Linked DNA regions of Homo sapiens: all the other regions are linked to region 2. The links are contacts of gene promoters, found by promoter capture Hi-C in blood cells and fetal thymus (Javierre and others, 2016). All regions are on one chromosome and are shown on one strand. The core of a region is centred on a gene start or on the middle of the fragment in contact, and the rest is flanking DNA. Distances in the headings are between cores, read along the strand shown. Region 1 overlaps HSPD1 (heat shock protein family D (Hsp60) member 1). Region 2 holds the start of PLCL1 (phospholipase C like 1 (inactive)). Region 3 has its middle 210 kb from the start of LINC01923. Region 4 overlaps PLCL1 (phospholipase C like 1 (inactive)). Region 5 overlaps PLCL1 (phospholipase C like 1 (inactive)). Region 6 overlaps PLCL1 (phospholipase C like 1 (inactive)).

Region 1 (4,077 bases), core at 1,573-4,072, 310 kb before region 2:
TCCGATTCATTATTTGACTACATTGTTTTGAAGAATATGATACATAAAACTATTCTTGTAACAAAAAGTTTAAAAATGCTGACTTCATTACAAACTGACAAAACTTATGCACCTTTGACAATGGCTAAGAACATTTTCACAATCATATGAATCCATTTTACAGCCATGTAGAACTAAAATGACAACCACATGTAGAACTAAATGACAACCATTATGGTCATAATTCTTTTCAAAGGTTTTAGCAGTAAGAAACAATGATTCTAATATTGATGATTGGGTAGTATTGTTATTCTGACATTGGTGTGATCAAGGGAAAAAAAAAATCACACATGCCATTAAATTTTTTTTAAAAAACGTGTAACATGTTAAGTCCTTACCTGTGCAATTTCTTCAGGGGTGGTCACAGGTTTAGACTGCTTTTTAAGTTCAGCAATTACAGCATCAACAGCTAACATCACACCTAGTTCAACGATATATGTCATTACAATGTTTATTTCTCTCATGGCTTCTATGTCAAGTAGAAATCTTGAGATTTGTGACAAATATTTTAATGCCTTAACTTAAAAAAAAAAATTTTTTTTTTTTTTGAGACAGGGTCTTGTTCTGCTGCCCAGGCTAGAGTGCAGTAGCACAGATCATGGCTCACTGCAGCCCTGACATCCTGGGCTCAAGGGAGTAGCTGAGACCACAGGCTCAAGCCACCATGCTCAGCTTCTTTTATTTTTGTAGACAAGGTCTCACTATGTTGCCCAAGGTGGTCTTGAACTCCTGGGCTCAAGCAATCCTCCCACCTCAGCTTCCCATGTAGCTGGGACTACAGGCATGTACCTATGCTTGGTCTTTAGTGCCTTAATATTAAATTTACACACAGCTTCTGAGACAGTGCTTCTTAATAACACAGAGTTGCGTGGCATGTACTTAAACAGTAACTTTAGGTTCACACAGTAAATAAAATCTCACAATGCCAAAATTTTGAAAATAGGACTAAAACAAGGTAGATGTGTGTAGTTTCAAAAGTCTCACCACTGAACTCATCCTATGCAAATTCCTAACCCAATCATGCTGTTTCCAATAGGGTCCACGACACTTCTCATGTCCATTAGATGATGCAAAAAAGGACCAAAATGGCTAACACTCCCTTATTTTCAACAAGAAGTACAGTTCTTAAATGATAGGAATCTGTTGTGACTATGCCTCTGCAGGTGTCAATTATCTGAAATCCCCTCAATTTAGTACGTATTATGAACTAACAAAATATTTTTGTTTTACATCAGTCTTAATAGTCCCATTTTGCTCAATTGGGAATAGTGCTAGCTCTCTTGTTTGAGAACTGTTACTTCAAAAAAAATCCAATGCAAGGTGCTGGTAAGTCCTCTTCATAACCTTAATTAATACTTGTTAGTGATTTACAGTAAAACTGCTTTTAGTGAAGTATATTCACTTGGCCCATAAACACTGAAATAGATGAGGTAATGATACATTAGTAATGTAGTAATAAATTAGTATGCCAATTCTGACAAAAAATTACCAATAGCTCCCCCCACCTTCACTTACAAGAGGGTTCCTGGTTTGAACCCTAACATACCCTAGATATACATAGCAATTCTGCTGATAGGAAAACCAAGTCTTAGCACACAGCTAATAAATGACAAACATGGGACTAGAATTTAAGTCTATACTGCCATGAACCTCATGAGGAGGAGCAAATTGTTAATTAAGTTGCACTCTAGTTACAAGCACTAACAAAACACAAACCAATAACATGGTGTGTGCTATTAAGAAAAAATAAACTGAGGAAAACATTACTTTCTGACATTCTGAATGATCCAGTGTATTTAGTCTTACTTTCTACAAAACTAAACTAAAAATTAGCCAGGAATGGTGGTGAGTGCCTGTAGTAGTCCCAGCTACTTGGAGGCTGAGGCAGGAGGATTGCTTGAGCCCAGGAGTTCCAGTGCAGTCCAGCCTGGGCTACAGAGCAAGACCCTGTCTCTAAAAACAAAAGAAACCAACTAAGTAAAATATCAAAATTACCTAACAGTACCTACCCACCATACAGCCAAGCTTGCTAAAGGAAAACCCAGTTTAAGATTTCTCCAGGCCAAGAGGAGGAATGAGAGAAGGATTAATTTCCTCAAGTTAACACTTTCCTTAGGTCCAAGGAATCAATGCCTTAAAGCACACTGAAGTTTAGAACACTGTGGTGACAACAGACATTCCTACCTCTCCTGATTTCCACTGGATTAGCACCTTTGCTAATCTTCTCGAAGCCTTCCTTGGCTATAGAGCGTGCCAGTACAGTAGCAGTGGTAGTGCCATCCCCAGCTTCTTCATTTGTGTTATTGGCAACATCTTGAACAAGTTTAGCTCCAATGTTTTTGTATTTATCTTTTAAGTCAATTGACTTTGCAACAGTCACACCATCTTTTGTTACTTTGGGACTTCCCCAACTCTGCTCAATAATCACTGTTCTTCCCTAGAAGAAAAAAATGTAACAGGATCAGACATACCCTAAGGATGATTTACATTTTTAAAAATGAGCAGTCTTCATAATAAAGCAACTACTTCAAAGTCTCAACGTAAGTTGTGTCATTTTTATCAGTCTTGCAGCATGAACCTCAAGGGCAAGTTTATCGACATTCTTTGTCTACAGACAAAATGACCTGATTCTCTGCCAAGAGCATAATTTTGAACTAGGTAATTTAGGAGATTAAAATCCTAGGGACTAAAACTTGTCATCTTATAAAATGAACAAGAACACAAGACAAAGAATAAAACAATCTTCCTATCACTTATACTTTAGTTAGTGCCTGTTATCTTTTAAAGTAATGTGACTTGTTTTAAAATCCGTTTAACTAAAATATTAACCATCAAGGCAAGTAGCGTGCTCTTCCAGGTTCACGCAACATAAAACTTCAACCATGGCACAATTATTGGCCATCCTTTGGATTTGAACTAAAGCTGCTACTTTCTATTTGTGAGGTGTGCAAATGTTGTATTTTAGGCAGTTGTTGGATCACTTGATATCTGAACTGTCTTCAAACTGAAATGAAGCACCACTTGACTGCACACCACCTTCAAAGGCCTCCTCAAAACATTACCCCTATTAAATGAGACTTATTTTAAATATGCTTTGGAACAAGAGAACAGCAGAAAACCGATGGGTAAAACTAGCATCTTGGGGTGGAGGAGAGAATGGGAAGCTACTGTCTAATGAGTACAAAGTTACAATTTTTCCATATAAAAAGTTTTGGAGATGGATGGTGGTGATGACTGCACAACATAAATGTAATTGATGTCCCCAAAGTGCACACTTAATGGTAATTTTATGTTGTGTACATTTTACTACAATAAACCAAAAAAAAATTTAGCATCTACAAGCACATACCTAAGGAATTATGGAAGATAAGTTAAACTCTTCTCTCTACACTTGGCATGAACTACTGGGAAAGGATCCAAATTTTAACTTAAGCCAGCGAAATTCTACCTCGAGTTTAAGAATCCACCTTGAGCTGTAAGTTACTACCTGATTACATCACACATTGAACAAAATAGTTTCGAAAATCTGGCTGAAGCAGTTTAAGCTTTAAGATCATGTCTAAGAAAAAAAGGCTAACCAATACTTCAGAATTCTTACATGTAAACTGAGTTCTCTCAAAAATGGAGATGAAAGTACTGTTGAATAGTTCAGTGCGACTATTTGTGAGTAAAATGCTATTAATAATACCGTAATTACAATAAAATAAAAATACTGGTACCTTTGGCCCCATTGTAACGGCCACAGCATCGGCTAAAAGGTCTACACCTTGAAGCATTAAGGCTCGGGCATCTGCACCAAATTTTACATCTTTGGCATAAGCCCGAGTGAGATGAGGAGCCAGTACCCTGGACACCGGTCTCATCTGGCGAAAGACTGTGGGTAACCGAAGCATTTCTGGGGATGGAAGCAAAAAGATCATCAGAACTACCACCCGTGGTGCGCTGCAGAACAAACATGCCCACCTGTGCAACAGAGCAAGCAACGTGAGATGCTGAGCCTGGCTGACCTCCGCCAGCCACTACGCCTGAATGACGGAA
Region 2 (4,250 bases), core at 39-2,538:
TGAAACCTCCCAAGTGCCCCTGCCAGTTCTGGCTGGTTGTAGCCCAGAGGAGACAGATAAAGTAGTGAAGAGATTATCGGAGGAGTTGGGTGGCTGATTCTAATTTTGGCTCCTGCACTAACTAGTAGACAAGACTCCCTGGGCCTTTGTCTCAACCGTAAAACAAAAATGATGTCCTAGTTGATCCCTAAATCCCCATATATCTCTAAAATTATGAGATTCAAACCAAATTGTTGGTCTAAAATGCTGAATAATTTCTCATGCTGTTAGCCAGACTAAGGAACAAGTAAAATCTCAAATTATTAAATTATTAATAAGATAAAATGTAATGTTATAAGTGAGGTTTAATATAGATTCTAATATCAAAGGAGTTTAAAATTAAAATGCCAAGTCTTTTGTCTTACCAGGGAGCCTTAGGACCATGGTTTGCATCTGAGCATTCTGTGGATAATTTCAGTGACTTAACTCATCATCCAAAGATCTCTCCCTTCTTGGTTGCTAGCTTACTGGAAATGAGCAAAATATGTTTTTATATAGGATTATATAGAGAAAGGAGGCTGAACCATTGTCAAATAGGAATGTTTTAGGATAGAGACTAAACTCCCCACCTGCATTTATCTGACTTGGATTATATCTGTGCTTTTTAAGAGTCAGTCTTCGGAGGGATTTAGTTGGTTCAGTTTCCTTTCACCCTCATCTCTTTCACTGACTCCCTTTCCTTGTTATATTTACTCACACTGCAGAATGACCTTAGAATCCTTTCCTGGAACCTGAAGCAAATTATGGAACCCCAAGATCCCAGTAAACCCTAGTTTATCTCTGCATGGACTTGACTTCTAAGAATTGGCCTGAGAGCCTGCAATTAACCTGTGACCACGCAAAGCTTCACCCCGTCACCCCAAACGCTTAGACATTCATACTCAATACCCACTTTCCTCCAAATTGCTTTGTTTGGCAGAAGAAGGTTTCTTTCTCCCCTCTCCTTCACCCAACCTGGATTTTTGTTGCATCTCAGGCTCATTTCGCAAATCTAAACTTCCTAAAATATACACGGAGCGCCTCCGGGTTTGCACACGCGCGCGCGCGGGTACACCCTGGCTCGAGTACATTAGCCCCGCTGGGCCGGCTCCCAGTTGCAGAACACATTCCATTCTTCGCGCTCGGGCACACCCCTCCGCAGTGAGGATTGGTCGGGCCGAGCCCCCTCGGCGAGGCGAGGCTCCTAAGAGGCCCAGACGCCTGCCAATCCCCAAGGGCTGTCAAAACAAGTCTCCCTCCCTGTCACAACAGAGCTGAGTGGAGGCCGCCGCCGCCGCCGCACTTCCTGGGACCGCTGCGCCGCAGTCCGCGGGCAGGTGGCGGGTGCGCCCGGCCGCAGTCGCCCGGCTCTGGCCCCTATCGGGCCGCCGGCGTCCGGGCTCCAGAGGCCGCCTGGCTGGGCGCCCGGTGCCTTTTGTCTGGCGCAGGGCCGGCGTTTGCATCACATTTCGGATACCTCCCTCTCTTTTTCGCCTCTCCTTCTGCCTCCCGCTCACATCGCCTCCCCACTCCCGCCACCGTCCCCCGCCGGACTGCTAGCCTCCTAGACCGAAGCCCGAGGACGTCTCTGCCCGAGCGATGTCCCCTCTCCAGAAAGTTGCCGCCGCCGCCGCCGCCGCCGCCACTGCCGCCGCTGGGCGGTGAAACAAAGTCTGGCGGGGCCGCCTCCCGGTGCAGGAGCGCACCGGTGCCTAGCGGCTGGACTCCGCTGCCGGGCGTCCCGCTTTCCCCCGGGGAGCCCTAAACGCTCCAGGCCATGGCCGAGGGCGCGGCCGGCAGGGAGGATCCGGCGCCGCCCGACGCGGCGGGGGGCGAAGACGACCCCCGAGTGGGCCCGGATGCCGCCGGGGACTGCGTGACGGCGGCCTCTGGGGGCCGGATGAGGGACCGTCGCAGCGGGGTCGCACTGCCAGGCGCCGCGGGGACCCCAGCGGACAGCGAGGCGGGCCTCCTGGAGGCAGCACGGGCGACCCCCCGGCGCAGCAGCATCATCAAGGTAAGCAAAGCCGCGCCGCACCGGGAGCGTGGCTGTGGGTGATGGGTGGGTCAGGGACCCGGGCAGGATGTGCGGTGTCCGGAGGCATCCGGGCTCAGCATTGTTTTCTCCCACCTCCTTCAACGCCAAACCTTCCTTCCTTATCCGGAGGTTCCCAGACTCAGCTGTCAGCCACGAGACGCACAAGTGACTTTTTCTCCCCACTGACGGCAGAGGAAAAGTTCCGCTCTGCGTCTTTGCGTTCTGATGGATGCTTTCCCTCATTTTCTCTGCAAGCTTCACTAAACCGTTGATGGAGGGAGGAAGGGAGAACTCTGGATAAATGCAGACCCACCGGATGGTTGTGCATTGCTTTCCAATGAAGGGTTAGCTTTTCCCATACAATGAAGAAAATGCACAGCTTACTCTCAAGTGTAAAAAAAGAATCCCTCTAGACTTAAATGATCCCGAAATCCCAAGATGTGTGAACTTTCCCGGTAGGGAGGCAGAGTTTTAAGTGGACCCTGCATCACAGTAAAGAGCAATGCAAGAGCCCAGAGTTTTTGCGCTGCAGAAAGCACAACCGGAAAGCAATCAATCCCCCAAGCATTATCACTGGTCCTTGTGGTTACCACCACATCCAGGGAAAACGCTTCCTGACCCGCTAATCACCTCACAGAATTTCTCTCCATCCATTTGGCAAGGAATTTGTAAACCTCTTTCCTCCCCTTTCTCTTTCCATCTTCCTTCCACTTGGGGCTTGTTTCTTCTGTTCGAGATTTCCTCTTTTGGGAGCATGACTTTGGGGTAAGGTTATTTAGGAAAGAACCCTCGCACAGGCTCTGGAAAAGGGCCTCAGTGTAAATGCATGTGAGTAATCAATCAAATGTATGTCAGATTAAAATTGATTTTGGTGGAGCAGTCAGTATAAAACGATATGTATGTATGTATATATGTAAGTATATATGTGTGTGTGTACATACACACACACACATCCCTCAATGACAATGAAAGATGGACTTTTACTTACTATTGAATTTATTGGGTTCACTAATATATTCAAAAGCTCTGTTCAGGGTTAAGCTGCGTAACCAGTGCATCACGCATGTTGCAAGCTCCCAGCACCAGCTTAGGTAGACTAACCACAGAATGTGGCTCCAGTAAAGTCTTTTTCCCAACACTGACACATGGAAGTTTAAAATCAGTGGAGAGGTTTCTATAATATATAAAGAAGAGTGGGTGGTAATTACAAATGGCTTGTAGTAGTTTCTGTTATTTTGTGGCTTTTTGATTATGTAACAGGAGTGTTCTATTCTGGGTGTGAATTTGGACAAAGGGAAATTACTATTTTGTTTTTAACCCACAGGTCAGAAAGCACACTGTTTTCAAACTTAAAAAACATCACAATTAGGAAACACATACATTTTGGATTCTACTGTATTGATACTACATGGTGTCCTGTGTGTGTAAAACAGGCACTGCAAGAGACTTTAAAATATATGACAATAAAGAGCAAACGGCTCTATAATGTTGTAAAAAACAAAAGTAATGGAGTATAAGGAATATACAAATTCTTGCAACTGAGTTTGCCACTTGTGAATTGTACTATGCTGGTTTATATTCTCAGAAGGGTCATTGCTGAGTAATGGTGCCTCTTTTGTTTTGAAGTTTCTTTTTGTGACAAAAAAGGAGGGAGACAACAGAATATTAACTTGATTTTTCCCCTATTTAATAGTAAATGCAATTAACATTTGGTAAATGGCCTTTAAAATTAAAGATATTAGAAAATAAAGTGAATTATTATGTTAGGTTTTTATTGGAAAAGTAGCACATACATATAATTTAAAAAATCAAATGTTGCAAAGGAGTGTGAAGGAAAGACCCTCAGACACTCCACATTCCCACTTATGTAGTCCACCCTCATAGATGTTAACACTTTCTTATGTATGCTTCCAAAATATTCCATGCATGTGTAAGCAGATATATCTATATGTGTCTATGATGAACTATAGCAGCTCCTGATTTCTACAAAAAAATCTGGCTAGAGTTTTACAAGTCTCATAGTTTTAAGCATTTTTGAAGCCTAGAGGGGGTAATCTGGTAGGTCTTTGGTGGGCAGCAGTCATTGGGGTCTGTTCCCAGAGGCCTTAACGCCCTTCTAAGGAGAAAAAAAGGCAGGTGGTAAGCTCTGTTCCACTCCGTCTCTGAGATCAAGAACCTTTCTGGTGACATTCTT
Region 3 (4,638 bases), core at 1,683-4,182, 360 kb after region 2:
TACCTGAGGTAAGGGCTCAGCATAGAAGGGAGTAAGTCCCTGCTCCTGGAGAACATAGCTTACTCATGGAGAAAACTGGCTAATGTATACTGGTGAAACCAGGAGAACCCATGTGGGATGGGCTTTTGAAAATGTTGGATCAGGGGAAATAGAATACAGTGTTTGCAGAAGGGGATGTATTGACATGGGGGAGTTCTCCCATAACACAGGTTTCCTGGAGACAGCAAAAACTTGCAGCTGGACATAATGGGCTGCTGCATGACTCCTGGAAGCAGGGACACAATGGTGCCCTACAATTTTAAAAAGGTGTAAATGCCCGGTGGGGTCAGTCTCAACAGTCCCTGCTTTCTCCAAGCAGACCAAGGCAGCTCTGTTCCCAGTGCTTTATCACTGGGAGTTCCACATAAAGTTTTGCTTAGTAACAGCTTTCTGCTGCTGTTAAAAAAAATGAAGAAAGCACTAGATTAAATGCACCCCAAAACCCTTTCCAGACCCAACGCACCATAGACCCTGATTGGTTATGCTCTGGAGTCTGACTGCCCAAGGTCAAAGTCTCGCTTCACATCTTCTGGGCTATAAGAACTAGGACAAAATATTCCACCTGCTTTAGCCTCAATTTGATCTTAAAATTGGGTAATAATTTTATCTACCACATAGTTATTGTCTTAAATTATTAAAAACACACACACATGGTTCTTAGCACAGTGCCTGACACATAGTAAATACTTGATACTTATTAAAAAATATAGAAATGTCTAAAAAATAAATTCCTTTTGCCAGGTTAGATAGGGCATAGGTAAGTGATATAGTTACATCTATACATATTATATAGATTTTTAAACCATACAGCATTTTAAATATCAAATAAAAATATTTAGTAGCTGCATTTTAAGTAGAGCCTAGCAGAATAACAATTTATTAGGCGGAAATTGCCATTTTTACAGTTCAAAAGAGGCTGAAGACAGGCAATTCCTTTTTTTTAAACCTAATATCCAAAATGCAGCAACTTTTGGAAAAGGATGGACCTTCCTGAGGTACAGGCTGGTAGGGGTGCGGCCAATGACTCCCTACCCCTGTGAATGCAGAACTAAGCTACTTATTTCTTGGCGATGACCTCACAGTGTCCACGGACTGCTGATTAGGCCAACTTTCATCACTACTTCCAAACATGAGTTCCGTGATGAAGAACAGAGTTATATCAAGTCAGAATAACTTCCTGGTTCCATGTCTGTGGCAGCAAAACCAGTCAGCTTAATCCTTAGTATGCTTATTTGAAACCCAGATTAAGACAAAATGTGCATGAAGGTAGGCAATGGAGTGGCTACACTTGTACCTACAGGCCTCATGATTGTGTGAATTGCAAAGCTTAGTACTGCTTGTCTTGGGGAAGAGTTAGAGACATGAAAATGAGAAGTCTACTGGTATTTTCAGTGAGAATATTGTTATCCCATACATTATACTTCAAGGTTTAATGGGATTACAATTTAGGCAGTCTGTTGTTATTTTCTCTCATTTTGCTTTTTCACAGTTTATATAACAACTTAAAAGAACATTCAGATAGAAATTTTGTAATGCCTGAGTCACATAGAGACTACTTATATATTCCTTTCATCTTGAGTTTTTCCTTCTCTAGAATTTTACCAGGTAAATATATGAGCACAGGGTTGATGTCTAAAAGGAGTCCTTTCCACTTAGCTTATGTGGTCCCTGGAAATGTCACAGAATCTTTGGACTCATTCCCATGGCAACAGGCAACTCTATCACCAAGGACACTGCCAGCTTTTCTTAAGGTTTGCTCTATATTTGAGATTCAAAGCTATCTGCTTTAATAATATTTATTTTGGGATGCATTATGATGCACCGTGACTGCAGAAATGACTTATTTGTTATACACGCTTGAGATGGGAAGATAATCAATGCCTCTTCACTAAGGAAGCAAAATATGGATTATGTTTAAAGGGCTTTGCTATGCTGCATTATTGGAAGTTTTTGTACGGCTAGGCACTGGAATAAGCTAAAAGAATGGGGATAGATAGAAAATATCAAATTAGGCATTGCTAACTGGAACACACACACATACACACGTGCACGCACATACATACATGCACACCATCAACAGCAAAACAGTAGACATCATAGAATAATAAACAGCCACTGTGCATGCTCAAGCACTAAAGCAGAAGGGTTTATTTTCAGCCATCTTAACTGTGAAATTTGCCATGGAGATAAAAGCTGTATTCAGTGGTGTCTTGTCACCAAGTGTCTGTGCTGTTAGGGATATTAGCAAGGGTCACCAGGGTATGACTGTTTTTCTGCATCTGAGCCCTCATTCTTTTGTCCCATTTTTCTATGATGGGACATGAGGAGAGGAAATTATTGGTGACATCAGTAGATATGATCTATTAAAAGAAGCGTGTCTGGTGAAATGAAAACAAATTTGGAAGGCTACACAAGGGAGACTATGAAAAAAATTAGCAATGCCTCCCCCACTCACAGAGGATAGTTTGGGGTGGGACTTATATAGGTTTAGAAAGATCTCCAGGTAATTCCAATGTGTGACCAAGACTGATTAGCTTAATCACCTTAGAGATTATTAACATTTAACTTGGTAAATGTTTCTTTTTGCATCATATCACTCTGACATATGGGCCTACGTTCCAGTTTTAATCAAGATACACTAGGTTATTTTAAAACTTTCAAGGTATCCTTATCCATATCATCTCACTAAATTCTCAGAATCATCTCATTCTGAGAGGAATGTACTACTTTTTGCCAGAAAAAGAAGCACACATCGTGTAACTCAATGGCACAGTCACATTTGTGGCATACAATCTGATTCTGAAGCTGATATTTTACTATTCCCCACTGTCTTCATCAACGTCTATCAGATTATATTCTCAGAACCTGAGATTAGGTAAAAGGGGATGGCAGAAAGTGAAGGACAGGTTTGGGCATATTAAGGTTGACTGTTTCTCTATGCATTTCTTTCCTAAGGCTGCTGTACAAAGTACCCCAAATAGGGTGACTTAACACATTCTCTTGCAGTTCTGGAGGCCAGAAGTTTGAAATCAAGTCTCCCTGCAATCCTGGCATTCCTTGGCTTGTAGCTGACTCACTCTAGTCTCTGCTTTTGTCTTCATGTAGCCTTCTTTGCAGCTCTTCTATGTTTCTGCTGAAAACCTCTGTATTATTTCTTTTATGGAGACACTTGTCATTGGATTTAGGGCCCATCATAATCTGGGATGGATATCTCATCTAGAGATTCTAAACTAATTACACCTGCAAAGACTCTATTCCCAAATAAGGTCATAGTCTGAGGTTCCAGGTGGCCATGAATTTGGGTGGGGGGGGACACTATTGAACCCTCTATACTCTGCAGTTGAAATTTGGATCTACTAGTCACTCCTCAGTGAGGAAAGCAGTGCTTCTCTCTTGTGAGATTTGTACAGAATGGAAAAAAGGGGTGAGAACAGGTAACTGAGAGTCAGCCTTTCTGGGAGCCCTGGAAAAACCCAGGTAGGTTCTACAGGACATTCTTAGGAGATCTTCTGAAGGATTACAAAACTGTGGAAACCTTTTGCTCTCAAGGCAATTAGTCACTCATGTAGAGTGGCATAAGAAGGCTTGTCTTCCTATCTATGCTTGTTGGTTTAACAGGAATTACTGGGTACAGTATTTGCTTTTTTTTTTTTTACAAGCATTAAACAAAATTTGGGGGCACAGAGAAAAAGCCATGGACTCTGATCTGGAGGAGTTGACAACTTGGAGTGTGAGGTAACCTTATCTCCTACCAGAGGAGCTAAAAAGGCTTATGGGAATACCAGCTAGCTTGTCAGCTAATGACAAGAGTTCCTAATAAAAATAAATAATCCATGAAGGAAATGGGCAAAGACTTTGACCAGGCAAAGAGAACCAAAACCAGTGTCAAGGTACCCTGGGGATATCACACTGTACATTTGCAGAAGGTTCTTTCCACAAAGGATGGATCTGGGGCACATGGAGGGGAAGTGATGTCCCTTGTTCCCTGGAATGTAGCAAGCATTCAAAGGTGTTGGTGGGTGGGAAGAAATCTGTGACTATTCCCAGGAGGAGCTGCTTTATACAGACAGGTGTTTTCTGGGAGGTGATGGAGGTGGAGAAGGTGAAATTGCCTTGGTTAATTGGAAACACTGAGTCTTACACAGAATTTAATGCCCGCCGAAACTTATAGAGTATACGAGGTAGAATTTCACCTGTTGTCAATCAAGTTTAGGTAACCCATTGAAGTATGTTTTCTAGAGAGTTTCAGCAGCTTATGGGTGGTCTTGTAGGGCTTGAATGTGTACCAGTTGTGCCTGGGTCCAGTGATCTTTCTCCACTCTACTTGAAGAGAAGTGTGTGTGTAAACCATGATTCTTCCTCCTCAAAACCTCTTGCTTATTCAAGTTAAACCAAAGTTTTGCTTTCAAGAGATTTTAGAAAGAAAAGCCATAACTTAAGAATACATTTTTTTTTCCAGAAAAGCTTGTTCTTTTATTTCATTATTTGCAAGTAAAGCAAATACAGGACCTTAAAAGTCACTTGTAGCTAAGGAAACACCCTAACCTCACTATGTCTACCATGTTTCCCAAGGCGTCTTTCTTGGCCTTCCCGCCCCCT
Region 4 (4,439 bases), core at 32-2,531, 270 kb after region 2:
TGTTGACTAGAGAAATGGAAGTTCACGTATCTCATAACTGCGTACGAAGCAGTGGACTGGGAAGGATACAAGAGGAGAATGACAAGATTAAAATAAGAGACAAGGCCTTTACATGAAAGCAGCTGACACTACAAAGGACGTAGTACTTCTGTTTAATAGGCCTCATCAGCCTTTTATGCTCCCTTGTGGGCTTGGCTCATGAACATCTTTAATGTTATTTAAAGCTGTTTTTATTGTTTATTTAGAAACATTCTTTATACATTTTGCTCTAATTATTAAATTTGATGATCTTTGTTCTTATTTACTGATTTAATTAGCTACAAACATTCATACATTAAAATTTATTCCGGACAACATTAGTGTTGGGATTAATGATTTTTTAAAGAACAAATCACTTGTACAATGCATAGCCCAGAGTAGGGGCTCAGTCAATCTTTGTGTAAATGGAAGTTGTATTTGAAATAATCCATTGGATGTGTATAATAAGAATCATTCTTGCAGAAAAACCCTAACTGGATGGAAACTATACAGAAGAAGAGCTTGAGATAATCACTTTTATTTAGATTGTCCCTTCTTAATGAGTTCTAATGAGCAAATGATTGCAGTGAGGTACAGCACAGTGGAAGCTTCTTCTGTTTACAAAAACAAATCAATGGTACTAACTACCCACTCTGAAATGGACTCTTTTTTTTTTCTCAGCACTCTATCACTAGCTTTGCCTGTAGAACATCAATTATTTTTGCTTCCAAGTGAAGAGAGTCATTTCAGAGAAGATGTGTAAAATTTAGAGGGTCACTGGCTGCCCATATTTTAATTAGTATCCCATCCCCACCACAGCGTATATATCAGTGTGGGTTTCCTAAAGGAGATGGCTTTAGTGCGTTTTATTAAATGAATCACCTTTTATAAATAAAATTTAATGGTAAATTCAGACATAGAACTTAATTTGGCTAGAGAAACTTGCATGCATACACTTAGCATTGCCTTTAATTAATTCTGTTGACTTAGAAGATGGTGTAGACAATAAATGCTTTTTTTATTGATCATAAAATAACTGTTCAGATCCTTACCAATAAGGGACCCACTAGGGAAGGCCAGTGGTTTACTTGGGTTATGCTTCAGCTACTTCTCAATAGTGGCCATTAGGACCTCCACTCCCACTGCATCACAGTGACCCTGGGTAAGTCACATGGTATTAACCATAAATAAGTGCATCACCTGTTTGTGTCTCTGCATTAAGTAACTGGAGTTGACCATGGGAATAAAACTTGGGAAAATTTAACGTGAAATTAATGGTATAATTCTATAGTTGCAGACTTCCCTTTTCTGAAACTTGAAGGCAACAGATACAGTGATGATCCCATCTCTCCCACCATCTTGAATTTTGTGTGAACTGTTAGGCCTTGTGTATGGGTAAGGGTTTTCTCCAGAACACTTAACTGCCAAACATGGATGTGATTTTGAGCATAGGCCCATTGGAAAGGCAAAATGTATGCATCAGAACTGAATTCCATTCTGTGATCACAATCCAGGTTAGTGGAGCCAACATTTTTGAGGATAGCCCTCTCCTGGATTTATTACTCTCTGCCTCTGCCTGTTATTCGGTCTCATTTGGGGCCACTTTATCTCACTTAGTATATGGTAGTAGCCATCCTGGCTGTCTTTCCCACTGAAGGACTTTTGTTCCTTCCCTGGAACCCTTTACTCTCAGTCTTGTCATGGCAGCAGTTTGGGTCTCATTTCGTTCTCTATCCTAGGCATCTTAAAAGGAACACCATCATGGCACATGTATACATATGTAACAAACCTGCACGTTGTGCACATGTACCCTAAAACTTAAAGTATAATAATAAAAAATAATAATAATTTAAAAAAAAAGGAACATAAGACATTCTCTTGCCCAAGTTAGCAGTAACTGCTTAACTGCTGAATTCAGTAAGCTTATCTTCAGATCTTAATTTCCAACACGCTTTCCTTTTAGTCTTGGCTTCTGTGGAAGCTCATTCTCCTGGTTTTCTTACCCCTCAGCTCTTCTTTTCTTTTAGGTCTTCTCTCCTGCCCAGCCTCTAAATACTGGTGTTCCTCTGGGTTTAGCTCATCTCTAACTGCTTTTATTTAATAGGTGACTGTACTATGCTCAAGGTTCTATTTATCCCTTTACGGGTATAACTTCCAACACTGAAACTGCAGCCCAGACTTCTCCCTGGAGGTTTGACTCATATATCCAACTTTCCATTGGGCAACTTCACCTAGATGGCCCATAGTCATGTAAAATCCACCATGGCCCAAAGTAAACTTAGTTTCCACTTCAACTTCACTTCCCCTGATATTTCATACCTCATTTAGTAATATTTCCACTCACTTCTCACTCAAACCAAAAACCTAGAAGTCATCCTTTACTCAGTCAAGAAGTTGTTTTACCTCATGTTTCTTGATATTTCCCACTCTTCTTCATCCTTTTTATTAGGAACCTACCTAATCCCTTCATCCTTTTTATTAGGAATCCTTTTTATTAGGATACCTTCCTAATCTACCTAATACCTTCATCCTTTTTATTAGGAATCTAGCTCAGGCCATCACTATCTCTTTATTGTAATGCTGAATGAAATAGTCATCTAATGTACCATCTTCAGTTTTGTCCGTATCAAATCCCTTTAGCACATATGCAGAGTGATATATCTAAGATAAAAATGAAACCTTATCAGTTTCCTCCAAACTCTGTAATGTGCTAGACTTTGTCACAGAGTAGGTACCTATTCTTGTTTGTCAAATGAATAAATGAAGAATAAGACCAGAGGCTTCTCAGTATCCAAGGTTGGAGTTATCTGGATTCTAGATTGTATATTGTCTACCATCCTTTGAGAATGTCATGTATCAACCAAATTTTTGTTTCTCAGTTTTGCTTGGAACTTCACAAAACCAGAATGAATAGCATATTTTTATAGTGTATAGGTTGTATATATGAACAGATAGGGTCTGTATGGTGAAAATCAAACCTATGTGCCTATATGCTTATCTTTTAGTATAATCTATTAAATTTTTATTAATAATTTCTTAAGAGAACTTTTCAAATATAAATCTTTCCCTCCCTTACACTATGTAGCTGGAGTTCAGTGTTATGAAACAAAGATTCCTTCTCATCACAGTTTGACAACTGGTGTTTTGATTTCTAGTCTTTAGAGTTGTGTAAATTTGTTCTAACAAAGAATCATTTTAGAACTGTTTGCTTAAAAAAAACTTGCCAAAACACCAAAAAGTATATGTGATGATATAATTAGATATTTAAATATGCTCATGAGGTCAAAGGCAGGGAAGCTTGGGCTTGGTATTTCCTTTACTCACTTTTAAATTTTTGTACAATGCTTCAGTGTGCATTTTTTCCCTGTGTGTTAAAATATACATAACATAAAAGTTACAATTTAACCATTTTTAAGTGTGTAAGTACACTTAAGTACATAACCATTTCTAAGTGTATAAGCATTAGGTAGATTCACATTTTTTGTGCAATTTCAGTATACTTTTTCCTGAATTTATATTGAAATAATTTGATATTTTCATGATTGAGATCCAAAACTTGTATTGAATAAGTAGAGTTTTCTGGGGGCTTATCAATGTGTTTTGAAGAAAAATGATTTTTTTTTTAATTTTGATTAAGGAGCTTGCATTATATCCAATCTTATTGGGCTTAGGGAGAGCAAATGTCAATGGGAATTTATGGAAACATGTTTATTAATTTGGCTTATCTGAACTTTGTTTCCAATTTTAGTTTAATAAAATTATTAAATATTTTAATACAATTATTAAAAATATTAAATATTTAGGAAGCTGAAAATATTTTGCTGTTGTGACGAGTCTCATTTAATCATGATTGGTATCCTATTCCTAACAGTAGTAGATAAGCAACAGTGTTGTAGAAAATAATTTAAAAATTAAAAAGACATTTGGCCATTTTCCCCTTGTATTTTGAAATGATTTCTGAGTTTAGAAATCAGACATTATAGCATAAGATTAGATAGAAATTATCTTTATGATATAAATGTAATAGAAACAGTGCTCATAGGTAAATCAATCTTGTGTTGTTTTAACAAAAAAGTATTTGTCTATTGCTTTACTAGTTCATGAGACTCTTCTTGATTCTGATGATTGAATCCTTTATAAGATATTGAATAATTTCAAAAGACAGTAGATCCAAAATGTGAAATATTATTTAGAGATGTTCAGAGACCATATAAACCCAATTTTGTTAATTTTTTTTAATTTAACTTATTTAAATGTGATTCCTTTCTTGAGAAATGATAATTTGGAGACTTATGCATAGAATATTAGGAAGTAGAAAGGATTGAATTCAATGTCTGACTAATTATTGGACTCAACTACAATATGAGGTTAAGCTTTAATTTAGGGGACAGAGGCATGACAATGCACTATTTATCTTAATA
Region 5 (4,224 bases), core at 1,677-4,176, 340 kb after region 2:
CAGTCTGGCATTTGGATGCCACCTCTTAGAACCAATGAGATGACATTCTGGATTATTAAAATATGTTTCATGCCATGCTGTGGGAAAAGGGGATGTGAGAATTTTATGCGTTAGTAGGATAAAATGATGTTTTTGTACGTTTCACTGTTCTCTTGCAATTAGGAAAGTTGCCAGTTTTGCTACTGCTATGCTTTTAAAATTCTTGATGAAACTTTCAAAACTAAATGAAAAGGGAACACTTAAAAGTAATACTCTGAAAATGAAGGAGGATATAGTCTCATTACTAATAGATTTTTTATAAATGGAAAGATTCCTTTAAAAATATAGTAGTACATATACATTATACATATCTCTGTAAAACAGACTCTGGTAGATGCATTTTAAATGTTAGTCAAATTTTTAATAAAATATAGATAGTACCAAGATACTTATTATATATAGTAGCAGATAATGTTAACCACTTTCTAAATCACCTTATATCATTGTGATTCCTATACTTATGATCATTTAAATCATAAAGAGCTCTTCAACATATTGTCTTTAATCTTAGAACTGTAAGGAAGGCTGAAGGATATTTTCATCATTTTTGCAGAAGAGAAAATGGCCCAGATAAAAATTGGTTGAAGATGCTCCAACCCTCGTCCCTGCTAGTGTGTTCTTGCTCTGCCCTGTCTTCCTGATTCTGGATGCTATCTCTAAATTGTGTCAGGCTGTGTCACATGGGCAATGCTTTTCTTTTTATCTGCGTTGCTTCCATGGGTAACAATGAATAGGAGTCTCTAGGGTGCCCTGCAGAGAGTGCCTGCTTTGCTGTTAAAAGATGCCTATCAGGTAGTGGTTAAAACCACAGACCCCGGAGCCAGCTGCTGGATTTTAAGCTCCAGCTCTACCACTTAGCAGCTGTATGACTTTGGGAAGGGTGACTGTGCTCTGGGCCTCAGTTTTTTTAATCAGTAAATTGAGAATAATGAAAGTACCCATCTCATAGGGATGTTGTAATGAATGATTGAATGAACATGTATAAAGCACAAAGAGTGACCACACTGAGCAAGCACTTCATATGTTGGTCTGTTATTATTATTACTGAAGAGTTGCACTTTTCAAAGTGGATGTGACTTCACTTTTTTTTTTAAATTTATGTTCTGGGATACATGTGCAGAATGTGCAGTTTTGTTGAGCAGACTCATTCGTGATGTCTATAGTGTTAAGAACAGACTTCCCAAAGTCTGCTGGTGTAGTAAATATTTTTTCTTTAGAAAATACATCTCTCACTGACAGAGTCTTTAGGCTCTAATCTCTAGTCTTTAGTCTCAGACTAGATTGTAAACATGGTGTGGGGAATAGAGCATTGATGCAGGAGGCCAAAGGCCTGAACTTTAGTCCCAGCTCAGCGATTAACCAGCTGTGACCTTGGGACAGTCAATTAACCTCATCAGGCTCAGCTTCATTTCTCCTCAGGAGAAGGCAAAACTGTCCACCTCCAACTCTTCTTCCAAAATCCCATACCATAATTGATGTACTTGAGAAGAAGTTCGCTTTAACACAAACATCAGGCAAAGCCCAACTATTTAATCATCCCATATAATTAAAAGCTGCTATTAGAAGGATTTAGCTATTTTTTACAGAGGATAGAATTGGCAAGTGCATATTTAGGTTTTGAGAAATAAAATATTCCAAGCTTTTGTAAAATACAAGTTTCTTCATACACCCTAAGGAAAAAGCATTTACTGGCCTTTCATAAAATAGGTAAATTATCCTTTCTCTGAGCCTCTGCTTTGTAGAATAATGCTCCAGCAATCGTCATAACCCCATATCCACCCATATTGTCCTTTCAAGGTCACACTTTCAGGCACTGCCATGAGAATGGAGAGGAGAGGGAAGAAGCTACTTCTTCCTCTGTCTATGGGCCATAGACACCTGTCCCTGCTTCCCCACACTCAGTCATTCAGCCCTTGGGCCAGTATCAGTATACGCACTTTATCTTCATAACAGTGAACTAAAATAAGAAATAAAAATAGCAGGAAAAGATCTCTGTTGGGCACTGATGTAAATGACAGCTAATGTGTTCCTGCAATCCTCATTTCCTTTTTGTTTTGCCTCTGGAGACTCTTTTTCTCCATCTGCCAGGTGGGAACATCATCTTCAGGATGATGGAAAAGGCAGAAGTAATGTGGGTGACTGATAATTTAACAACAGGCAGATTGCAAGGATGACCCAGTATATTAAAAACCAGCTCACCAAGCATAAGGGTATGTGACTTACTTTACAGAAGACACTTTGCTTTGTAAGCTCTTGTACAGAGGGGGAGATTTTATTTTCACTTCTTTAAGGAAGAGCTTCTTTCCTTGTTTTCTCCCAAGACTAGGAATGCTGGATCTGGGCGGGGTAGGTATTGCAGCAGTGTGCAGAGTCTCAGACCATGGTGATGGAAGAGTTGATGTCCTCAGCACATAAAGAGGAGGATTCCTCACAATAGGAATCTCAACGGACTGCCAGCAATTGCATAGCCAGCTGGTCAGGCTCAGGTTGAGGTACTTGGCTTAACAAGCAAAGTCACTTAATAATGTTAGAAAAGAACCTTGGGTTAAACCCTGGAAAAGTGAGCTTGCAGGTCTGGGTCTGTTTCCTTATTCAGCAATGGGCAGTAAGAACATAGAGTGATGTCACTCAGCACATGCCTGGCCCATAACTGTCTTCTTTGATGCCTGTTTTTTTCTGTTTGTAGGGCCAAGGAGATCTGTTGAAGAATGCCAAGAATGAAGCTATAGAAAACATGAAGCAGATCCAGCTGGCATGCCTGTCCTGTGGACTGAGTAAAGCCCCCAGCAGCAGTGCTGAGGCCAAGAGCAAGCGCAGCCTGGAAGCCATAGAGGAGAAGGAAAGTAGTGAGGAGAATGGGAAGCTGTGACTCTGGGCATTATCGACACGTTCACCCATCTTATCAAGGACTCTGGTTTCTCATTCTTGTTTTCTTTCTTTAAATGTTTTATAAGTTCACAAAATGGTGCCCTATATGGGGTATTGGACATAGATATTTTCACAATGTCAGTATTTCAGTGTAGTTAATTTATCTAAATTAAAGCCTTTAGTATCAGTGTTTTAAATTCTGAGACATGTGTCAACACCCCTGTGTGGATGCCTGTGGAAGAGTGTGTGTGTGTGTGTGTGTGTGTGTGTGTGGCAGAGAGAGAGAAAGAGAGAGAGAGAGAGAAATTCTGTTAAAATCTATTCTGTGTTGCATTATTCATTTAGTGAGTTATTCCTTGATCATTTTGGGACAATTGTTTTAATCTGAAATTCTAAAGAGCACTTACTGTAACCTGTTGCTGTGTTTAATTTGACTTCTCTGCCTTTGACATTTAATTTAGTGATCTTAGCATAGCTTATTATTGAAGGAAGCCAAATTTATCAAAGCATAGATGTTTTGGTAGATTAAATATAGATTAGAAAAATTCCTAAGAATCAGAGTAGAAATAAAAGTGAATGAAAGATTAAACAGATGATGAGAATTTCTAAAAAGATTAGCAAGGTCATTTCTTCAGTCAGAAAACTTTAAAAAATATTTATTAAATAAAATCAATTTTTAGGAAGTTTTCTGTAGTCATTTACTAAACATATGATTTCACTAGAAAAGCTGATCATAAGTGAATTTATACCTACCTGTGTGGTACTCTGAAACACACTGAAAGCTCTGTTGCAATTAGGATTTTGATGTGACAATAATATTGTTGTATAATTTCGAGATTTGTAGGAAGGTCTCATTCTTCCAAGCTGAGAGTCTAGCACTCATTTTCTATAACAGATATGGCAGCTTAGAGGTGTTGGCTTTGTTTGGATGTAATTTAGGGTACTAAATTTAAATTTAAAGATATTGTTCAAACAATATCATATCATCACATTGAGCTGATATAAATTCTGTGGGTCCGATAATATCTTTGTGATAATTTAAGAGCTAACCAGTTACCACACATCTATGATATAACCCTAACACACACAGAAAAGCATACATGCAAAAAGAAATGACTAATTAGGGTACATTTATAATTGCATCTAGGTAATTTTTACCCTAATGTCTTCATAAAGTACTTGAGTGTAATGTTTGTTACCTCCAACAGAACTAAATGTTCTATGGTTATGAAAGAATATATTTATTTAAAGCATTGCTTTTATTTTGAAAAGCTTCTTAATTAATTTGATTAACAAATATGCTAATTTGGGGAAACC
Region 6 (4,400 bases), core at 1,224-3,723, 330 kb after region 2:
AGGAAAGAATGTTGTCTTATAATACCAACAGATTATTTAAACCTGAGAGCTTTACATCATGTTAGATTAAGTTGTGTATATTAAAATTTTCCAAACAGTAAGTATAAAGATACTGTCTTATACATATAAGAGGTATGGCTATTTTAACATATTTTTTAAATTATATGAAATAAACTTTATTGGACATAGTTTTACGTTACCATTTTTTCTCTCTTTCACCAAATTGTGAAAGCAAATAGCTAGATATGCTTTCTCCCTTTGAAGAGGCATGACAGTTTCAGGTTTTGCTAAGAAAGATAGTTTCCATCTGAAAATGTGTGTACATAGTGTTTACTTCTAATTTAAATGCCTATTTACACAGGTTGGGGATACACCAATGTTTTTTGATGATGTGGTAAGTTTTCAAAATCTATTTGAGGTCATTTTTATATGCTTAGAATGACTTAGGTGCAAATCTACATGGAAGCAGAGGAATAAACCACATGGTTTTAGAAGCCATTTCTGATCATTGGAGCACAAGCTTTTTGTGGACAGCAGGCACTCCCTACCTAAGTCCAAAGCAGGGGAGCCACCTGCTGGACAGTGTGAAAAATCTTCATTTTCTGGAGGTAGTCATCCCTGCTTTTTTACTTTTAAGTTTAGGTAGATTTACTTACATATAAATTTATGTACTTTTTATTTTGCTGAGTAAATTTCTCACTTCACACAAATAAAGCGGCTCTAAAATAAGGAGAAAAAAATTAGGATGCTATGAAACACAAATTTGAACAACGATCAGTACTAGAAGTAGAGGCTTTTAGTCATTCCATTTTGTATTTTGTCTTTTTCCTTTCATTCGTAGTTCAGCCTAACTGCATTTATATTGTAAACCAAAAATAAAATTCTAAGCCCCTTAACCGACTGAATGGACCTGTCCTATGGGGACAAGGGGATTCCAAAAAATTCCAAAAAGCTAGTTCAGGCCATGATGGGAACCTGATGGTGTAACCACCCAGTTGGGTTCACCTTTCATGCTACCTAGAAAGAGCTGATTCATCTAGACAGGGGAATCGCAATAGAGAAAGAATAATTCGCACAGAGCCAGCTGTGCGGGAATCTGGAGTTTTATTATTGCTCCAATCTGTCTCCCCAGGATCAGAGTTTTTAAAGACAATTTGTGGGAGGGGAGGGGCAGTGAGTCAGGGACTGCTGATTGGCTGGGTCGGAGATGAAATTATGGAGAGGAAATCATGGGGCGTTACTGTCTTCTTGCGCTTAGTCCGTTCCTGGGTGGGCATCACAGGATCAGATGGGCCAATTTCTTGATATGGTGGTGCCAGTTGATCCGTCAAGTGCAGGGTCTGCAAAACTTCTCAAGTACTGATCTTAGGAGCAGTTTAGGGAGGGTCAGAATCTTGTAGCCTCCAGCTGCATGACTCCTAAACCATAATTTCTAATCTTGTGGCTACTGTTAGTAGTCAAGAAGGAGGTTTATTTTAGGAAAGGGATGTTATTGTTCTTGTTTTAAACCATAAACTATAAGTTCTTCCCAAAGTTAGTTCAGCCTATGCCCAGCTTGGAGGTTAGAGGCAAGATGGAGTCATTTAAGTTGGATCTCTTTCACTGTCTCAGTCATAATTTTGCAAAGGCAGTTTCAATGGTAAAAGGGAATTGGATACGCTGCATTATACTTTCCTCCCTTTGGAATTCAGGCTGAACTGATCGGCCTTAAAATTAAAACAGAGATCTTAAGACACAGTAGGCTCTTTGTAGCAATAAGATACCAAATTCCAACCTGACTCCAGTATAGCATCACATGACAGATAGCAGGCCCTGAGAAAAATCAAGTATTTTACCCCAAAATATATTTCTTTGACATATTTTTAAATGGCCCTGCAAAGCTATCTCTTGTGGGGGAAATTTACCTCCTTTAGAGAAGCCCCTTCCCTTTCCAGGTCTTTTTCTGATCCTGAAGAGTTTAGCTGAGAGTCTGGTACCTTTTAAAGGTATGAATAGGAAGCATTTGCCATCTATTGCCTCTAAGGATGGCCACCTATAAGACTTCATCTACATAATAAGACCGTTGGTCTCCAACAACACCCCTTATCTTTGCCCAGACACTCCTTTCTATTGATTCCAGGTTTTTTAGATAATAACTTAAACCCTTCAACCAATTGCCAATCAGAAAAATCTTTGAATCCACCTATGACCTGTAAGTCTCCTGCTTCGAGTTGTTCTGCCTTTCCCTACCAAACCATGATTGATGTCTTATGTCCTCCTAAAATTTAAAATATCAAACTGTAACCCAACCTCCTTGGCCACATGTTCTCAGGACCTCCTGAGGCTGTGTCACAGGTCATGGTCCTCACATTTGGCTCAGAATAAATCTCTTCAAATATTTTACAGAATTTGGCTTGCTTTTTTCATCAACAATATGTATACAAACGGGCTTTTCTAAAGGACTTTCAGCCCTCCTTCAGCTCATCTCCTTCCTCTTTCTATCTCCTCGCCTACATAGTCAAACTTCTTAACAGGGTTGTTTATACTTGCCGAATCCACTTCCTTACCTCCCACTCACTTCTTAGCCAACTTTAATCTTTCTTCTTCCCCGACACTCCATTAAATCATTCTCACCAAGGTCACCAATAACCACCTTGTCACAAAATCTCATGGACACTTTTCCAGTTTTTATCTTTTTTGACTAGTTGGGAACATTCTACGTGGCTAAGCACTCCCTACTTTTTATTTTTTTTAATTTTTTTGAGACAGGGTCTTGCTCTGTCACCCAGGCTGGACTGTGGTGGCATGATCATGGCTCACTGCAGCCTCAACCTGCTGGGCTCAAGCAATCCTCCTGCTTCAGCCTCCCAAGTAGCTGGGACTACATGCACATGCCACCACACCCTGCTAATTTTATGTTTTGTAGAGATAGAATATTGTGATATTTCCCAGGCTGACTCCCCACTTCTTGCAACACTGCTTCTCTTGATTTCTGGGACACCACCCCCTTCTCTCTTCTTCCTACATCTCTGACTCTTTCTTCCCAGAATCGTTTGCAGGTTCCCTTTCCTCTGCTATTCTGTTAAATGCTGGTATTTCTTAGGGTTCTAGCTTAGGCTATCTTCTCACTCCACCTTCTGTCCCTGGGGGACACAGTTCATGCAAAGGGTTTTGATTATCTTCACCATGCTGTCAAATCTCAAGTGTGTATTTTTGGCCCAGGTGTCACTCTCTTTATCTCTTGATGATCCCTGCTCATCCTCCCATATAGTTTATATATCAAATTACCTCCCAGGCATTGTACCTGGGAGGTCACTCAGCCACAGCAAGGTCGGCATGTCTCCAGCTGTGCTTATCCCTATCCATATGTCCTGCTTATCCTCAGTGACACCTCTGGAATTCCTGCTTGAATGAATAAATGACAACTCAGAGTTATCCAAACCTAAATCCTGGGGGTTATCCTTGATCCTTTTCTTAACTCTCCACCTCTAATTGGTTAGCAAGCACCGTTGGGTCAACCTCCTTAATACCTCCCTAGGAAACTTCCATTCCCATAGCCGTCACCTTAGTTATCTTCATTTATCACCTGAGTTAGTGAAAAGTCATTTCTCCTCTATCCTTTTCCCACTCCATAGCATAGAGCTGGAGTGATCTTTTTGAATGTAAAGCTGGTCATGGCCATTCTCCCTTCCTAAAGCCCTTCCAGGGCTTCCCACAGCTCCTTCTTAACTTCTCTTCTGAAACTCATTGTGGCCTGTCTTCTCAGCTCCCCTCCTTCCCCTCCAGCTTCGTCTCTCATTGCCTTCTTCTTCCATGCACTACTCCAGCCACATGGAACTTTCTCCACTTCCTCAGTGGCACCAGGGATGCTTTCATGCTGAGTAGTCACATGGACTGTCCCTTCTTCCTTGAAAGTGTGTAACCCTGCTTGTACCCCTGCTCCCTGGGAGCCCCCATCCTGTTGTTTTCACACTGCATGGGGCACTGTTATCTGTACTTCAGGTGTTTGCTCAGGTACGGAGTCTTCAGGATGCCTTCATGGACACCTCACCTTCTCCTGCCTCCCATCTTCAACAGAGTTAGGTATCCCTGTACGTATTCCCACAGAACTCTGCTATTCCACTATCATAGCACTTTAATTGCTTTTTTATCTTTCACGAGACAGTCTCTATTATTGTAAGCAATTAGGTGATGAATTTTAACATAGCAATTTTAACCTGAGCCCCAATTAATAAACAGTAGACATTTAGCATATGAGGTCAAATCAAAGAACGTCTCGTCAAATCCCCATGTTTTGGAGAAAAGGAAACTGCTGCCCACAGGAGTTAGGGACATTTCCAAAGTCACAAAGTCAATTCATAACTTATTAATCATTCTTCCCACTGCAGACATCAGCCATAACCCCTATTCTTTCTATCCTT

Evidence for each region. Contacts are between HindIII fragments. The CHiCAGO score rates a contact against its expected background, and 5 or more counts as called.
Region 1: a contact is called between a fragment that was not itself captured here and the fragment with the promoter of PLCL1 in region 2, in 1 of 17 cell types (fetal thymus). The highest score is 6.0, in fetal thymus.
Region 3: a contact is called between a fragment that was not itself captured here and the fragment with the promoter of PLCL1 in region 2, in 7 of 17 cell types (M1 macrophages, M0 macrophages, M2 macrophages and 4 more). The highest score is 13.0, in M1 macrophages.
Region 4: a contact is called between a fragment that was not itself captured here and the fragment with the promoter of PLCL1 in region 2, in 11 of 17 cell types (activated CD4 T cells, naive CD4 T cells, non-activated CD4 T cells and 8 more). The highest score is 13.4, in activated CD4 T cells.
Region 5: a fragment that was not itself captured here is called in contact with the fragment with the promoter of PLCL1 in region 2 in 15 of 17 cell types (M1 macrophages, M0 macrophages, fetal thymus and 12 more); the score reaches 15.4 in M1 macrophages.
Region 6: a contact is called between a fragment that was not itself captured here and the fragment with the promoter of PLCL1 in region 2, in 15 of 17 cell types (M2 macrophages, monocytes, naive CD8 T cells and 12 more). The highest score is 69.5, in M2 macrophages.

What each region holds. Positions count from the first base shown.
Region 1 is chr2:197,494,917-197,498,993 of GRCh38, forward strand. It overlaps HSPD1 (heat shock protein family D (Hsp60) member 1), which reads right to left. Exons shown (of 12, transcript NM_002156.5): 2 at 3,759-3,934; 3 at 2,224-2,476; 4 at 378-460. The coding sequence starts at 3,932. Among named protein-coding and RNA genes, the nearest start is that of HSPD1, 2.9 kb to the right of the region's middle. The HindIII fragment of the contact is 1,520 bases long and covers 2,063-3,582 here.
Region 2 is chr2:197,803,305-197,807,554 of GRCh38, forward strand. It overlaps PLCL1 (phospholipase C like 1 (inactive)), which reads left to right and starts at 1,289. Exons shown (of 6, transcript NM_006226.4): 1 at 1,289-2,035. The coding sequence starts at 1,796. It overlaps LOC105373828 (a long non-coding RNA gene), which reads right to left and starts at 1,242. Exons shown (of 4, transcript XR_001739850.3): 1 at 405-1,242. RefSeq lists a silencer at 1,336-1,465. The HindIII fragment of the contact is 1,428 bases long and covers 882-2,309 here.
Region 3 is chr2:198,165,780-198,170,417 of GRCh38, forward strand. No RefSeq gene overlaps it. Among named protein-coding and RNA genes, the nearest start is that of LINC01923, 210 kb to the right of the region's middle. The HindIII fragment of the contact is 3,138 bases long and covers 1,364-4,501 here.
Region 4 is chr2:198,075,487-198,079,925 of GRCh38, forward strand. All of the region lies in intron 1 of PLCL1 (phospholipase C like 1 (inactive)), which reads left to right. Among named protein-coding and RNA genes, the nearest start is that of PLCL1, 270 kb to the left of the region's middle. The HindIII fragment of the contact is 1,314 bases long and covers 625-1,938 here.
Region 5 is chr2:198,144,055-198,148,278 of GRCh38, forward strand. PLCL1 (phospholipase C like 1 (inactive)) reads left to right here. Exons shown (of 6, transcript NM_006226.4): 6 at 2,726-4,224. The coding sequence ends at 2,908. Among named protein-coding and RNA genes, the nearest start is that of LINC01923, 230 kb to the right of the region's middle. The HindIII fragment of the contact is 2,501 bases long and covers 1,677-4,177 here.
Region 6 is chr2:198,127,272-198,131,671 of GRCh38, forward strand. The region is part of intron 5 of PLCL1 (phospholipase C like 1 (inactive)); the gene reads left to right. Among named protein-coding and RNA genes, the nearest start is that of LINC01923, 250 kb to the right of the region's middle. The HindIII fragment of the contact is 3,910 bases long and covers 519-4,400 here.